2 separate regions of the Homo sapiens genome follow, and region 2 is linked to region 1. Evidence: promoter capture Hi-C in human tissues and cell types (Jung and others, 2019). All regions are on one chromosome and are shown on one strand. The core of a region is centred on a gene start or on the middle of the fragment in contact, and the rest is flanking DNA. Distances in the headings are between cores, read along the strand shown. Region 1 holds the start of MYLK (myosin light chain kinase). Region 2 overlaps KALRN (kalirin RhoGEF kinase).

Region 1 (5,634 bases), core at 3,133-5,632:
GGCCCACATTTACCTTTGTTTTATAAGCCTCTACAGAGCTCAATAGAAAGTAGACATCATTAGTGTCTGCTGGTTGATTTACAAGTCATTATATAGACCTGGAGAACACTGCCCGGTATATATAATAAAAGCTATTCTTTGTTTTGTGCCTATTTATATTCCTATATTCATTTAATTTTTATAACCGCCCTCATTGTCAGATGACAAAACTCAAGTCAGCTCACAGAGGTTAAAACCCATGCCCAAGAACACCCAGCCAGTAAGTGAATGGGATGGAACTGAACCCAAGTTTAACACCAAAGATCACATTCTGCCTGGCTGCCTCCTCCTGCCAGAAACCTGAATGAGACCTACTATACATCAGAAATCCTCATCTCTGAAAACAAGAAAGGTAAACAGCATCCTCAACTATAAAAGCCCCAAGTTGCAGGTGTTCGGTTCCCCCAAAGATTATGAGAAATAACCCATAAGGTCCTGGATTAACAAATTAGCATCAGATCTGAGCGCCCAGAGCCAAGGGAAAAAAAATCAAGAAGCAGGTCTGAAAGAAAAGGAAATCCTCTCCTCATCCCTTTTCTTTTGTCTCCAAAGGGGCTTTCTGTCTCCAGAGGGCTCTGCACTGAAGACCCAGGGAAGGAGAGGAGCAGAGGGTGGAAGGGGGGCAAGGAAGTACCAACAGAGGGGGGATGGGGACAACGTGGGAAATCTAAGAAGCTGGATCTACACAAAAATTTCCACAGCTCCCTAGTGGGGTGCCCATTCACCCTCAGACACTGAAGTACAGTGAGCAGGAGGGCAGGGAAAAGAAGGTGGTGGGAGCATCTGGAAACACAGCCTTACCTTCCAGCCCATGAGGCAGCAACTGTTGCTGGCTCTCCTCCTGCCCCAGCTGACTGGGCTGGCTGTCAGTAAATTTCATGGGGGCTGCAGCCCTCACACACCAGGTGCATGCAACAAGGAGGAGGGATGCACCTGTTGGCCCGCAGTGCAAATACGGAGGTCCACCCACCTTGAGTTTGTGAGGGGAATGCATTTGCTCAACCTGTTGGCATCAAACGAATGGAAAAGTGTGCAGCCAAAACTCAAGGAAGAATAAAGAGAATCCATCTGCAGAATGGTGCAGGTGGGAGAGGGGCGTGGCTTGTATGGGCACTGCTTCCCCGCACAACCATGTCTGCCTGCTTGTAAGGTAGGAGGCTGGGGGAGCACAGGGAAGAGATAGAAGTCACATGGCATAGGAGCTCATCACAGTGACATCGTTCTGTCCCACTCTGGCTCACTGCTGGACGGTTCCTTGATTCTGAGCACTCAGGCCACCCAATAGACCCTGCTCAGGCCTAAGCATCCACATGGACATTTTCCATGCAAATGGCCCTGCCTCATGTCCTCTGCATGCACCCTCTGCTGGCCAAGTTGAGCGAGGACATTGTCTTTTGTTGGGAAAGGATACTTTTTAAGTGTTGTTTCTAAATTTTACTACATTTGCTGAAAAGACAGGACAGGAAGCTTTTAAGAATGAACAATCTCCCAGCCTGTGTGGGTTGGTTTGAGCTGTGAGAGGTGCAGCTGGGCTTCCAAGTAGGCTTATATTTCCAGACTCCCAAGTATTGTTCTCAGAAAGATACTAAATAAGACACCCCATACTCATGGGACACTGTACCCATGTCCCCAAGCAAGGCTGCATTCTGAAACCCCCACCCCACCTTATGAACTTCCTAAAAGACAGACAAGCCAACTAGTTGTGTTTCAAACTCTAGGCTCATCTTATATTTTGAGGATAAAAGCAAGGGGTCATTCTCAAAGACACTGAGTATATGGTGACCCCAGCGCATTCACAATCTATGCCTCTGAGACCAGCAAAGATCTCCCTAGCCAGAGACCCAGAACCTTTCCCCACCCTTGGAACTCAAAGGCCTCTCCCCTCTGCACCATCTGGGTCACCTCCTTCTCTGACAAGCCTTCTCAGCAGATTACCCCCGCCACCTGCCAGCCAGGAGCCCCTCCTCTGCAGTGACTGTAGCTGTCTGTCTACCATTTTCAGGCAGCAGGTGGGGCCACCTGGCCTTACCAGTTAGCCTAGGAATGTTCCAAGGCCTAGTCTGCTCTGCATATGTTTTCTAAGATCTGGCCCCTGGGGAAGCAGCCCCTGATGAAGGGGTGAGCAAACCTCACACAAACAGCAACTACTCTGGCTGGGTGCAGTGGCTCATGCCTGTAACCCAGCACTTTGGGAGGCAGAGGTGGGCGATCACTTGAGCCCATTAGACTAGTATGGACAACATGGTAGGACCCCATCTCTACAAAAAATCCAAAAAACTAGCCAGGTGTGGTGGCACACACCTGTAGTCCCTGCTACTCAGGAGGCTGAGGTGGAGGATTCCTTGAGCCTGGTAGGTCAAGGTTGCAGTGAGCTGAGATCACGCCACTGTACTCCAGCCTGGGCAACAGAGCCAGACCCTGTCTCAAAATAAAAAATAAAAATAAAAATAAGACAAGGAAACATCTACAATGCTGCAGCTACCCTCCTCCTCAGCTAGCCAGTTATTACACAAAAGAAACTGAACATGGGAGATAAACCAGCATAAATGCTTCCCCACTGTGGGGTGGTTCTCCAAGCTCATGCTTAGCTGCAAATGAGGTCCAGCATCCTTTGTATCATCAGTGAACAATGAGACAGACCTGCACATCTTGGCAAAAAAAGCTCTTGTGCATGTCCCCAGAGTACCCGCTACCCAATCCAGCATCCAGAGTCCAACCACTCCGGACCCAGGACCAACTGCTCAGGTTCCTCCCAGACCCAAGGCTCCTGGCCCACTGAGAGTGGGAGAAAAAGGGGTAACCTCACTCTGGGCAGGAAGGAAAATTCCATGCTGCCCTAGAGCACTGTGGTGCCAGCAGCATCATCCTCCACAGTCCCACAGTGTGCAGGCGGGGAAGAGACTAAGAGAATCACGGAAGAGAGAAGGAGGTCAAGAATTTAAGAGAAAAGAAAACAGTTCTATTAGAACCCTAAATGCCTTGTAGGAACCTAGTAAAGTCACCAGATGCACCTACACTTCTCCCAGAGACTTGCATTGTTGATTCCTGATTCTTTGAAGTGTGGGCGGGGTTCCCCAAATGGTCCTCCTAAGCCCACCATCTGGAAATAATTTATTGATAAGTGCATTTTGACAAAAAGTATTCCATTCAGGTGGAGAAGAACACAGCCTCTCTTGGAAGGGGGATGCAGCTCCAGGGCAGGCTCTCAAAGGCTGTGGGGTGGGCGGGTCATTGCATATACTCTGGTCTTTGCACTTGGGGAGAGGAGGGATGGTAAAAACCAACGGCCTGAGGTCTGGCATCATGCCCACTGCCCAGGTGTTTCCCTACACCCACCCAGCTCCCTGAATCACAACAGCTAATTTTACTCCCTCTAGACTCTAGTAGAGCTGGGTCTTCTCCTTCTGGCTACGAAATAGAAAGTGCCCCGCACCCCAACACACACACCCCAATCTAAAAAAAATATATATCCTTGAAACCATTTCCCCATCAGCCCATCTTCACATCTGCAATGCCACTCCTAGAAATTCAGTCCTTTGGGTCTTGAAGGGTTTTAGTTCCATAAGTTCCAGGGAGGGGTCTACCTCAACCATTGACAACTCACATCTCCTGAGAAGTTTATCCAAAACTTTCCAACTGCAATCATCGGCGAACAAGGTCCCTCAACAATGGGACCCCAGTTAACGCGAAGGAGGCAGAGCGAGGTAAGGAGCTTAAATGAGGAGTATGGAGTAGGAACAAGTCTGCAAAGCCCGCGCCCCAGCTTCGCCTGGGATGGCCAGGTCTGGCACTCGCGGGCCGCCTTCCCCGCCCTACCTTCCCGGAATCACATTTGGGCTGGAAGGACCTTCACGTGGCACCCCCTTCCCAGAGGCCGTCACCGAGTCCTCTAGCGAGGGTCTGGGAGCTGGGAGAAGGGTCCGCTTCTCCTCCGCCCCTCAAATCAAAGGCACCCCCTTCGGATGATTCCTAGAAAGGCAATCGCATCAGTGTCCCCAAGCACTTCATCTCCCCAAAAGAAAACTCGTGCAGCCTGGCGTCACTGGGGTCGTCTCCTTACGCCCCTGACTCCTCGCCGCACCCCGGGGCCCCTCTCCATTAGGGGAGTCGGGAGGCACAGACGGTGGGGGTCCCAGCCCCCACCCAGAACTCCCACCCTCGGAGCCTTGACTTCCAGGGCCCGCGCCTGGACAAAAGCATGGGGCGGGCTCACTCACCCGCGCGGCGAAGGCGGCCCGGGAGCCGGGGCACCGGCGCTCGGCGGGGCGCCCCGGCCGCAGGCGCACAGCGCGGGCTCCGAGCTCGCTCAGCGCCCTGCTGCCGACCGGGCGGCGCGGGGAGCCCGCGAGGCGCGTCCGGGACTGGGCAGGGCGGGGCGGGGCGGGGCGGGGCGGGGGTGAGCGAACCGGCGAGAGAGAGAGCAAGTGGGAGAGCGGAGAGCGGACGCGCGCTGAGGAGAGCGAGTGAGAGCGCGGCGCTACGGGGTCAGGACTCAAACCACCCGCTCCAGCCCCCATGCACTGATTTGCATGACATTTGCATAGCGCTCGGGGAGTGGACCTGCTGCCCTTCCCGCCACGCCCACCCGCCTTCTGCCTCGGAGTCCGGAGCGGAGAATCCGCAGCCAAACCTAGCGCCAGACCCGGGCCCCCCTCGCACTTATCCTGCACCGCCCCAGTTAACTCCTCGCAGGCGGCGGTCAGCGGGCTGGTACTGTCTTGGTGCGTGTCTTAGTCCTACACTGGGAGACCTAGGCCTTAGGTCGGGGTCTGATGCTAGCTTCGTGAGCGTGCATGAGACACTGGCTGCCTCTGGGCCTCAGTTTTCTAATCTGTAAAATGAAGATGTCAGCGGAACCATGGGGCTAAAGTTTTAGTGCTGGAAGGTTGTCTATGTAGTTTTTTTCAGACATCCTCCAGTGGTGCAACTCAGCCCCATGGTTCCTCTGACATCCTCCCTTTGTGTGTGTTAAGAATCTCTCATTGGTTTGGAAGATACCTACAAAGTTCTTTAAATTAAAAAAGGGGAAAGGGGAGGGGGGGGAGGGGAGGGGGAGGAGGTGTTTCTGGTTTTGGCTTGCTTTATATTTAGTTTGCACCCAATATGAAATATTTTATAGCTTCTGATCTCTTCACTTGGACCTTCTTTTGTTTTTTTTAAAAAAACTGTTTACTGCAGGTTAAGGAGTGTTTTTAAAAATTTTTTAATTGTAAAATAAAACATAAATACAGAAAACCACAAAAAACAAATATATAGATATATAGACTAGTGAATTATTATAAAGGGAACATCCTTGTAATCACCACCTGGATCAAGAAATAGAACTCTGCCAGCCACCCCAGGAGCCTCTCCATGTGCCCTACCTCAATGACAACCCCCTTTCTCCCTCCTCCCAAAAGTAACCACTAACCTGACTTTCATGTAGTCACTTCTGCTGCTTTTGTTTTTCTTGGTATCTTCCAAGGGTGCACCTTACCCCTCCCCCCACTCTTTTTTTTTTTAATTTGATTTGCCTTTTCAGTCTTTTCCTTACAATTATTTGTTAAATAACTTAAGCCCTTGATCTGTGAGGTTTTCCAGAGTCTGGGGGTTGCA
Region 2 (5,423 bases), core at 2,029-4,528, 400 kb after region 1:
TTTAATACCTGCCTTAGGATTATTGTATGAGTTAAAGAAAATGTACATAAATCTACCAGTATGGCTGGAGCCTTGAAGACATTCAGCACATGGAACAAATGGTAGATTTGTAGAGATAGACTTGTGCTGGCCCATGTAAATGAGTGGAATCAGCAGTGGATAGATGCCTGGGGAGGCTCTCTTGAGGGGCATGCATGGGGAATACAGCCCCATCCACAACAAAGATGCCAGAGTGGAAAGTAGGCAGCCTGTGGCAGCAGAGCATGGAGGTGAGGAACCTGGTGGCTGGAGAAACCAAGAAGGGATCTTGAGGAGGACCTCATCAGTGGGTATTAGACACAAGGTCAGCTGCTAGCAGGGAGAAAAGGAAATGGAAGCTGTAACCAGTCTGGCAGGATCTTAGAGAACACTTGCTGAAGATAAGCCAATCACTGTGCCGAGTACTGTGCCAGGGATGGGCAATTGGAAGATGAGCTACATTCAGGCCTGGCCATGTTGGAGCAGAGGGCACCAGCAAACAAATAGCCATTGCACAGGTAAGTTCACAACGGTGTCTATTAGTGCTATGGGAGCATAGATGGAGAAATGTTTAGCCAGGGTTTGGGATGCAGGGAGATGGAAGAGTGTGAGCAAAGGCACAGCAGCCTCAAAATGCAGGCTGGATCCTGGGAATGTCTGCAGTTGGGTGTGGCTGGAGCACAGGCTCTACAGAGAGGAGTGCAGGAGGTCTGTGTTCATGCCATGTGGGTTACCAGGAGTCAGAGCACAACAGAGAGTCAGAAGTCCATGGAATAACCAGTGGACCACGAGGAAAACTGGATTCTGGCAAATGGTTCAGGTCTTGCCAGGAGCATCTGAGAATCCTAAAGTCTTTGATTCAGGTCCAATCCCTTACCCATGGCAGAACTCCCTTCCAGATGTGCATTTTTCCAGATTCTTCTGAGCATTTCCAGGGCTGAGGAAGCCACAGCTTTGTGAGGCAGCCTGTTCCACTGTTCTGTAGCCCCAGTTGTTAGAAAGTCCTCCTTCCAGCAGGCCAGAATCTACCCTCCTGTAGTTACACCCTGCAGTCCCATCTCTGTCTCCCAGGGTCATTGGGGAACTACTCTCTTCCTTCCCCTGCAGGGCAGCTCTCCCATAACTTGGGGACAGTGCTTGGGGACCTTCCTCATGTTTTCTTCACCAGATAAAGTTCTGTGAGTTCTTTCAGCCTATTTTCGTTTGACGTGGGCTCTAAACTCTTTAATGCAGCTTTCCTGGGACCAGTTTTTCAAGTGGATGAGGGGTAATGGGAGGAGTCTGCAGCTTTTGGTCCCACTTGCACAGGTGAGAATGAGATTTTGTATGTGTAGGTGCACTAGTTTTTGTAGCCCAAGTTAGTTGATCTGAAACCCCAAGAGTTTGCCCACCCAGAGAATGATGTTCTCTCACTTGAATAGAGAGAGACACCATCTCATATATAAATACAGGAGGATGTCTTCTCACATGTGAGCACAGAGAGATTTTTCCAGTATGAAAATGTTGAGTTAAAGTGTTCTGGTGCCAAGGTCAGTAGTAGTTACTGTTTCTCAGGGAAAAGCCCAACTCAAGGGTATCTACTGTTCAACCCCATTCCTGTATCCCATGGCTCTTCCTGAGGTCATTCCCAAGGAGAGCAAAAGCCTCATACTCTTATCTTGTAAAGAGTCGGAAACCTGTGGTAAAACAACATGGCACATGTATACCTATGTATCAAACCTGCACATTGTGCACATGTACCCTAGAACTTAAAGTATAATAAAAAAAAGAAAAAAAACACGCAAAGGAATATTAATCTCTTGGAGGAAATCTGCCTCTAGCTGGAATCCCAGAAGGGTTCTTCCCCCAGTCCCCCATCCCATGGCCCCTTTGAAATCCCACTCTTGGTTTGTTCACCTCTAGTCTCTCCTTAGTAAGCTTTCTCTAGCATAAGAATGTCCTGCTATAGGAACAACTGCTGATGTGGTGAGAAGATATACTCTGTAACATATGCGTTCTGGTGGAGAGATAAAAGAGGGTTTGGTTTCCTCCATCCTCTTTAGAGATTGGGTTGACCAGCTTGTCCCAGATTTCCCTGGGGAGGTGACCTTGTCATGAGGTGGCAAGAGGGGGTACAAACATGAGGGCCCTAGAATGGAGAGTGAGACTGGACTTGGGCATTCAGCTCCCATCCCTCAGGGCATTCTCTTCTGTGCTTTGCACATTCCCACCTTTTCATGCCTTTGTTCATGCCAACACTCCTCCCATTTGGAATGCCTGCTCCACTATATGTGCCTATTAAAACCCTCCCCCAGCTGAAGGTCCAGCTCAGATGCTACTCTCTCTGTTCTGCCCTGTTGGAGGTGCTCTTTCTCCCTCTGAGCATTTCCTGCAGCCCTTATCCATCCCCCTCAAATTGTCCCTGTTCCATGCCATCTAGCATTATAGCTAGGTGCTCAAAGATCTCATTCCCCCAATTATATTGAAAATTTCTGGAGGTTAGGACCAGTGTCTTCAATTACTCTGTGTTGACCAGAGATACTTAGTGCCAAATAAATAGTTGACCGTGACACAGTCTGTACTCACTGGGCTGCTTGAGAATAGAACAAAACCTGTGAACACTGAGCTGACACAAGAGCACCACCTACTGCTGAATGGTTTCTAGGAACGCTACCTTAATGCACTCACTGTTGAAAACTGGGGTGTTAGCAAGTTTCACCTTGCAATGGAAAGAGTGATTTGGAGGCAAGAAACTGGTTCTGGTCCTTTTATACTAATCCAAGTGGGAACAGATGAGGTGGTAGTGAAAGTAGAAAGGGAAGGGACAAACCCTCGAGACACTCAAGGGAAGAAAATGAGACCAGTGACTGGCTGGATGTCAGGGGGCAAAGGCAGCACCAAGGCCTTCGTGTTAGGAGGATTGGCAGTGGGACACGAGTGGGAACAATTCCCGAAGACATTTTGGAAGAAGGATGGATAATTAAATGAAATTTTAATTTTAATTTGTTTTAAGGCACAGAAAAGTGAAAGAAGTGATTATGAAGGTTACTAAAAACATTATCATGTGTTAGCTGGTTGTTGCATTTCTGCCCTACATTTTTCTTTTTTTTTTTTTTTTGAGATGGAGTTTTGCTCTTGTTATCCAGGCTGAGTGCAATGGCACAATCTTGGCTCACCACAACCTCTGCCTCCTGGGTTCAAGTGATTCTCCTGCCTCAGCCTCCTGAGTAACTGGGATTACAGGCATGTGCCACCACACCTGGCTAATTTTGTATTTTTAGTAGAGATGGGGTTTCTCCATGTTGGTCAGGCTGGTCTTGAACTACCAACCTCAGGTGATCCACCCACCTTGGCCTCCCAAAGTGCTGGGATTACAGGCATGAGCCACCACGCCTGGCCTCTAACCTACTTTTAGGGACAATGGATGCTATCTAAACACAGGCATTTACCTTGGTCCTCTGGCAGCCTTGAGGAGTGATGGGGCTCTTCATTCAGTAAGTTCTTCCTAAGCCCTGCAGAGTATATCCTGTAGGGTCTGGAAGCTGGAAACACTGCCAAGCTTCTCCTTGTGGATGTGCCCAGCCTGGCTCCCTGCATGGCCCCTTACCTGTCTGAGCCCCATTGCAGAGGCTGCTGCTGGAAGAGGGGAGAAGGGGCAAAATGGGGTGCCTAGTCCTCCTCCTAAGCTCAAGGTCAGGCCCACCTAGCACATACCAGCATAGCTAGGTGGTGGTCTTCTCCCCAAGAGAAGGGCTCCCACAGGGAAGCCTGCCTCCTCCCAGAGAGGGGCTCCCAAAGAAAGAGCTGCCTCATCCTTAGCCTCATGTGGAGCTTTGTTCCCAGATGTGCAAGTGATTGGCACAGCCGATTTTAGGATGTGTGGGAGGACTAGATGAGAACATCCAACAGACACTCCATTTTTGCAGTAACAATAATAGTTACCATTTATTGAGTGTATCCCTTATGCCAGGAACAACCATTAGCTCATCTAAATTAACTTGCCAAGGGCCAGATCTCAGTTTATGTCTAAATTTAGCTCCGGGATAAAGTTGGGCATTATTTTCTCAGCCTGGATTAAATAGGATTTGACCTCTTCAAGTCTACATTTTGGGAAGTGAGTGAAGTACATTCCCTCACTGTGTTCCTGAAAATATTTTATCAGCATTTGTGGTTCAAATGGAAGGAATTTGGCCACTCAGAGTCAATATCCCGGGGCTGTCTGGGCTGACTCCTGGCTTGGTTAGTTCTGTTTCTCATCTGCTTGACTTGCTGGCTCCTGGATGACCATTCCTTCCCCACAGGAGGGTAATGAGTGTGTTGCCAGTGCTGCAGGGAATAAAGTGCATCCAGGCTCATAGGCTGGAAATAAAATGCAAAAACACCTTATTTAAAGTCTGAAAATATTTATATTAATGACTTGGTGAGATTTTTTATTACATCACTTAACTTGAGGAGGGCAAGTGCGAGGAGAGTGGCCTTTTAAGGCTTAGCATTGAGTGTGTGCTTCTCCAGACAGCTGCTGAACTGCAGCTCATCTGTCAAGAACAGTGTGTGATTTTAGCATGAAGTTTCGCAGTCTTAGTTTCTCTAATCAGACAGCAACTACTTGTTGTGACTGCCAGTTTATCTTGTCTGAACCCAGAGGAAGTGGAAAGAGACTAGCATACATTCTGGATCTGCTATGTATCATATGCTATACTCAGAACTTTTCATATATTATCATATTATGATCTTTATCTTCTTTGACCCAGACATTTGAATAGTTTGTGTGAAAAAGATGGGAGAGGGAACAAAATGGAGGAGAAAGCGGAGGCAGAGACCATCAGTTGGTGAGAAGTCTGCAATGTGCTAGTTGGTTTTTGTTCTATGAGATCAAGGCTGGCTTGGTCTCCCCTTTGCAATGAGATAAATGCCTGTATATCTGGGAGGGTCTCAGTCTAGACACTCACTTCGTAGTTAAAAGCAAATCTGAGCTATCACTCCCCTCCAGTGGTTCCCCAATGCATCTTTTGCCCTTTGTGATCTGGTATCTCCCTATCTCCTACTATGGCTTCTTACAATCCCTCATTTTATGCTGCTGCTTTAAACCTCCAGGCCTTTGCTTAAGCTATTTCCTCTGATTAAAATGCCCTTGCAAACTACACCTTCTTTGCCTGATGAAATCCTGTTGTCTTTCAAGTGCTGTCCAGGTGTTGCCACCCAGAAGCCATCCATGCTTTTCCCTAACCCTATCTCTGCCAAGTTGGACCAAGTGCTCCTCTACTGTCAGCCCACAGTATACGTCTCTTATAGTATTTTTCACATTTTATTAACATTAACAGAATATGGAATGTGTTTGTCCCCCTCACTAGACCGTGGCCTTGATCTTTTATCACCCGTGTCTAACCCAATGTCTGGAATACGAGTGCTCAATAAGTGAATGAACA

What was found. The method cuts DNA at HindIII sites, captures the fragments that hold promoters and counts their contacts. A contact is called where the count stands out against the background at its distance.
Region 2: a contact is called between a fragment that was not itself captured here and the fragment with the promoter of MYLK in region 1, in 1 of the 25 tissues and cell types used here (aorta).

What each region holds. Positions count from the first base shown.
Region 1 is chr3:123,879,950-123,885,583 of GRCh38, forward strand. It overlaps MYLK (myosin light chain kinase), which reads right to left and starts at 4,383. Exons shown (of 34, transcript NM_053025.4): 1 at 4,257-4,383. It also overlaps a transcript of CCDC14 not described here. RefSeq lists a silencer at 4,263-4,422. The HindIII fragment of the contact is 8,771 bases long and covers 1-5,634 here.
Region 2 is chr3:124,279,281-124,284,703 of GRCh38, forward strand. All of the region lies in intron 5 of KALRN (kalirin RhoGEF kinase), which reads left to right. Among named protein-coding and RNA genes, the nearest start is that of MIR6083, 92 kb to the right of the region's middle. The HindIII fragment of the contact is 5,025 bases long and covers 767-5,423 here.